Linked DNA regions of Homo sapiens: region 1 is linked to region 2. Evidence: promoter capture Hi-C in human tissues and cell types (Jung and others, 2019). All regions are on one chromosome and are shown on one strand. Each heading gives the region's core, a stretch centred on a gene start or on the middle of the fragment in contact. The rest is flanking DNA. Distances are from core to core; before and after follow the strand shown. Region 1 overlaps REPS2 (RALBP1 associated Eps domain containing 2). Region 2 holds the start of REPS2 (RALBP1 associated Eps domain containing 2).

The links. The method cuts DNA at HindIII sites, captures the fragments that hold promoters and counts their contacts. A contact is called where the count stands out against the background at its distance.
Region 1: a fragment that was not itself captured here is called in contact with the fragment with the promoter of REPS2 in region 2 in 1 of the 25 tissues and cell types used here (hippocampus).

The regions. Positions count from the first base shown.
Region 1 is chrX:16,992,639-16,995,338 of GRCh38, reverse strand. All of the region lies in intron 1 of REPS2 (RALBP1 associated Eps domain containing 2), which reads right to left. Among named protein-coding and RNA genes, the nearest start is that of REPS2, 47 kb to the right of the region's middle. The HindIII fragment of the contact is 9,956 bases long and covers 1-2,700 here.
Region 2 is chrX:16,945,237-16,947,952 of GRCh38, reverse strand. REPS2 (RALBP1 associated Eps domain containing 2) reads right to left here and starts at 1,295. Exons shown (of 18, transcript NM_004726.3): 1 at 819-1,295. The coding sequence starts at 1,091. The HindIII fragment of the contact is 7,319 bases long and covers 1-2,716 here.

The sequences.
Region 1 (2,700 bases), core at 187-2,686, 47 kb before region 2:
ACCCCTTAGATTCACACAGATACCATTCATTCAGTTCTCTTATGTGGCACACTATGCCAGTGAATGGAGTCTCTGGGCCCACCAACTGAAAGACACATAATCTTTGTACCTTAGCAGCCAGAGACAGATGCAAGTTAGGCCCCACTATTGCCTGGCCTTACAAATGGCTATCAGCACACATCTGTGAGAGAGGGAGCAGGTGTAAGGGGGACAATCTCAGAACTATTTTCTTTCAATAAAACTTAAGAACAAACCACAATGCTGGCTTCATCATAACTGTGCTGTAACCAACTGAGCTAACCAGAGTATACAACAGAAACTAATGAACATTTGCCATTTTTCTTTTGGCTGCCTGTTATCCGAACCCTTTGCCAGTGTTTATGAAATTTTCCACCTGCTTTCAGCTAAATAAGCTAAAAGTGTCAGATTCTCACTTTCCTGATTTCTTTTCAATCAGGGTATGGGCACAAGACCTACGCTCTGCCAGACACCACCCACACAGGCATTTGTTTTTGTTTTTATTATTATTTAAATAGCTTTGGGGGAACAGATGGTATTTGGTTACATGAGTTAAGTTCTTCAGTGCTGATTTCTGAGATTTTGAGGTACTCATCAGCCGAGCAGTGTACACTGTACCCAATGTGTAGTCTTTTATCCCTCACCTCCCACCCTTCCCTCTGAGGCCCCAAAGTCCACTGTTTCATTCTTATGCCTTTGCATCCTCATAGCTTAGCTCCCACTTATAAGTGAGAAAATACAACGTTCGGTTTTCCATTCCTGAGTCACTTCACTTAGAATAATGGTCTCCAACTCCATCCACGTTGTTGCAAATGCTATTATTTCATTCCTTTTTATGGCTGAGTAGTATTCCATGGCGTATTATAAATGTTACGTGTGTGTATATATATGTGTGTGTGCATATATATGTACGTGTGTGTATATATATGTACGTGTGTGTATATATATGTATATATATGTACGTGTGTGTATATATACACACATATACATACACACATATATACACACATATACATACACACACACATATAAAATATATTTTTGATATATTTTCTTTATCCACTCGATTGATGGGCATTTGGGCTGGTTCCCTATTTTTGCAATTACAAATTGCACTGCTATAAACACGTGGCACACGGGCATCTGAATCAGTAATGAGTGCTGTGAAACAGCAAGAACAGTAGATGATTGTTTTCTAGTGACAGGAACAACATCCAGTTCCAGGAGCAGCCCCATACCCAATGTCCAATGCAGGCAATGTTGGTGGTGTAGGTGGAGGCATCCAATATTCAGTAGCTACCAATTCTGTGAGGTTATCTGGCTGTAGTTCTGGCAGTACTGCCCCCTAGTTGTGCAGTTTTCAAGCCTTGTCCCTGGTCTTCCTAAAGAAAGATGTAGCTACACAATATCCTGCCAATAAACTGCTTTTCCGCTTAGATTTGCCATAGGCAAGTTCTGTTATTAACAGGACTGTGTTACTAAGAATCCTGGGTTTTATAGAGGACAGGTCAAAGGTGAGCCCTGATCATTCCAGAGCTTCCAAACTTGGCTGTATCAATTATCTACTACTGTATAACACACCACCCCAAAACTTAAGTGCCTTAAAGCAACAGCATTTATTTAATTCATAACTCTGGGGGTCAGTAATTTGGGCTGAGTTCAGCTGGACAATTATACTGATCCGAGCCAGGCACCATTGATCTCAGATGAGGGTCACTTATGCTTCTGCAGTTGACTATTGGGTTGTCTGGGTACCTTCATTTTCCTCCACATAGTCTCTCTTCCTCCAGGAGGCCAGCCAGGGCTTTTTTTACAAGGTGGCAGAGTTCCCAAAGCAGCAAGAAACTGAAGCTCTACCTCACGCCTAGGATCAAAACCCACACAGGGTCTTTTCTACTGTATTCCAGGGTCAGACCAAATCAACAGGACAGCCAAGATCCTAAGAATAGAGAAACTGACTCTACCTCTTGATGGGAAGAGTTGCAAAGTATTGTGAGCATTTTGCAATATACCATACCTTACTGTTTGATAAAGAGCACAATGGGGAGGCTGTCACAATACAGATAACACTAGGGAAGTCTCATTTATTAGAATTGCATATACCTAGAATCTGTACTCTCACCACTATTTCCGTGAACCATCACCAACTCCAGCCACTGATACAACAATAGCTAACTAGAAGCAATAAACACACAGTGCTGAGCCAGCAAACTCCATAGCCTGTAAACAGTTTGTAAAGGTCAGGCCCCTTGGATCTCTTATCCTGCAGGACGTACTAAAGAGCATGGACTATAGTCATGTATATATAGCTGGTGCCATGTAACACCAGCTCCCTGGCTTTGGCCTCTCTTTCTTTAAGCCTCAGTTTTCCTCCCCACAAGACTCAAAAATAATATTTTCTGGATATGAATAAATAGTCTGATCACTTCAGACAGAGGACTAGTTAACATCCCTAAGTTACAGAAAAACCTAATATAACTGGAAGGGAACCTAAAAAGCCTCTGCTCTGAATTTGTTTATTACGATGTTTAAGAAGTTTAACCAAATCCCCTTCCAAGAGACACTCAAATTGGCAGACCCCACAAACATTTATTTAATTGAAACTAGATGTTTCCTTGACAACTGTTGAACTGAGAAAGGAAAGGCTCCTGCAAGAAGTCTCCATGGAAACCGCCCAGTCCT
Region 2 (2,716 bases), core at 46-2,545:
AAGCACAAAACAAAAACAGCGTCTGGTATGTATCATCCCCTAGTACTTTTCCAAGTATAGAACAGCCAAAAGGTGGTAGCTATGACATCCCTTACCTTTCAATTCTATTTCAAGTCCAAGTAATGATAGATGGGAAACTACAGCTGTTTCCCATGGTGGACTTCTGAAGTCCACCTCTAATCTCAAATGGGAAATTTGGTTTTGACTTGACAAACGTCCTCTTGCAGTCCCGTGTCCCTGTTCTGCAACTTGTCATTAAGGTTTTCGATTTAATATTAATATTTAGAAATATGTTATGGGCAATTACATATAGTAGATACTTATATATTACAACTACATAGAGAGGACAACATTCAGCCCTGGGCCTCGAACCCTACGGACACACACACCCTTCAAGTTGAAATCCCAGCAAGGCACCCTGAGAACCCACTCAGGAGAGGGAGGGGCAGGAGCAGCGAGCAGAGGTTAAACCAGGCAGCAGCCAAAACAAACACCACTTCCAGAACAGGACAAACTTTGGGTCTGGGCGGCTGCAGAACCCCAGAAATGGCCGGGGGAGGGGAGAGAGTGTCAGACTGTCTCAGGGAAGGAAGATGGGGAGAGCGCACCCAGCACTGGGCGAGGAGCTGAGCTGCGAAGGAGGCTGGTGTCCCCCGGGGACAAGGGCGTCGCCGCCATCCCCGGCTGCAGAGTCCTCTCTCTCAGAACTGGCCGAGGCCTCCGGGTCCCTGGGGGCAGCCCTGTCGCCCCACTCGCAACCTCCGCCCCCGCACACACTGCCCCACAGACCCGCAGGGACAGGAGGCGGAGGGACCCACCTGGTGCAGCGTCTCGGCGGGCAGCTGCGATGCCCGAAACAGGTCAGCCACGGGGCCGGCGGCCGCAGTGGCCGTGCCGGGGGCGACTCTGGCGGCCTCGGGGGGCCCAGACCCGGGGCCCCCGCCCGCGGCGCCGGCACAGCGCGCGAAGAGCTCGGAGTAGCACTGCTGCTCGCCCTCGCTCAGCAGCAGCGGCGGCGGCCCGGAGCCACAGCCCCCGCCCGCCGCTGCCGCTGCCGCTGCCGCCGCCGCCGCCGCCGCTGCCGCCTCCATGGGGCCAGCAAGGGGGCGCGGCGGAGCCCTGTCCCTAGCTGGGGTGCTGCTGCGTCCGCCACAGCCACCGCCTCCTCGGCCTCAGCTGCCGCCGCCGCCGCCGCCGCCACCACCGCCGCCGCCACCACCACCCCCACGCCCCGCAGCTGCCGCGCGGCCGCTTCCTCCCGGCGCGCGCCGGCCCCACCCCCGGGCTTGAATGTTGTGCCTCAGCTGCGCGGCACATGGAGACAGGCGCGGCGCGGCCCAATCACAGCCTGAGATGTCACCCCGGCCCCGCCCCCGCCTCCCGCTTGCCCCGCCCAGCGCCAGGTAACTAACCCAGCGCGCCGCACGCCCTCCGCCCGTCACAGGCTCCGGTGCCCAGGAAGGCGGGCCCCGTGCCTTTCCAAGCCTACCCTGCAAGGGAGCGGAGCCTTTGGCCATCCGCCCTGGTTGGGAAGGGGGCATCTAGACCCAACTGGAGAGAAGCTCTTTTCGGGGAGCGGGGAAGGTTGTGTTGTTTTCTTGCTAGAAGGCTGGGGCAGGTGTGGTGCCCACACCACGCCATGCCCTTTCCAGAAAGGGACAAGGCATGGGAAATTAGGTTTCCTTTCTTCCATAGCAGTACTGCTTATGTCCTAAAGAGCCGGAAGACGCAGACGTCTGTACAAACAGGGTCCCACTGACCCCAGAGTGTTCAGGGTGGTATTGGAGTTAGGCCCCCTCGTCAGACATGGCTCAAACCAGGAGTTGAGACTTTATAAGGAATAACATCGGTTACTCGTAAATACTAGAGTAGTAAGAGTACAAAAAGACCCATTTTGCAGATCATTTCGTCCAAACCCTGCTTTTACAGATGAGGAAACTGCCATGTTCACCTTCATTCCTCCAAAACCAGTTGAATATCTCGTATGTAGCAGATTTATATGCTAGGGCCTGAAAATACAAACCTCAGTAACAGAGGATCCTCACTCTCCAAAGGAAGCACTTATTTTAGTAGTAAAACAGGCATTTTTTTTAGTACAAAACTTGTTCAAGCTCACACCAAAAATCAATGCGAAACCCCACATTTTTCCACCCCGGTCCATGTCCTCCTCTCTCTCTCCATTCCTCCCTATCCTAAAGCATACACACTATATTTTTCAAATGTGCTTGCTTCCCCCTGGCTAGTACTCTAACCACTTTTTTTTTTTTTTTTTTTTTTTGAGAAGGAGTTTCGCTCTTGTTGCCCAGGCTGTAGTTCAATGGCACAGTCTTGGCTCACTGCAACCTCCACCTCCCGGGTTCGAGCGATTATCCTGCCTCAGCCTCCCGAGTAGCTGGAATTACAGGCGCCTGCCACCACTCCTGGCTAATTTTTGTATTTTTAGTAGAGACGGGGTTTCACCATGTTTGTCAGGCTGGTCTCGAACTCCTGACCTCAGGTGATCCACCCCACCCCCACCCCCCCACCTCGGCCTCCCAAAGTGCTGGGATTACAGGCTTGAGCCACCACGCCTGGCCCTCTAGCCGCTTTTAAAAGAAAGTCCAGGCCGGGCGCGGTGGGTCATGCCTGTAATCCCAGCACTTTGGGAGGCCAAGGCAGGCAGATCACTTGAGTCCTGGAGTTCGAGACCAGCCTGGCCAACGTGGTGAAATCCCAT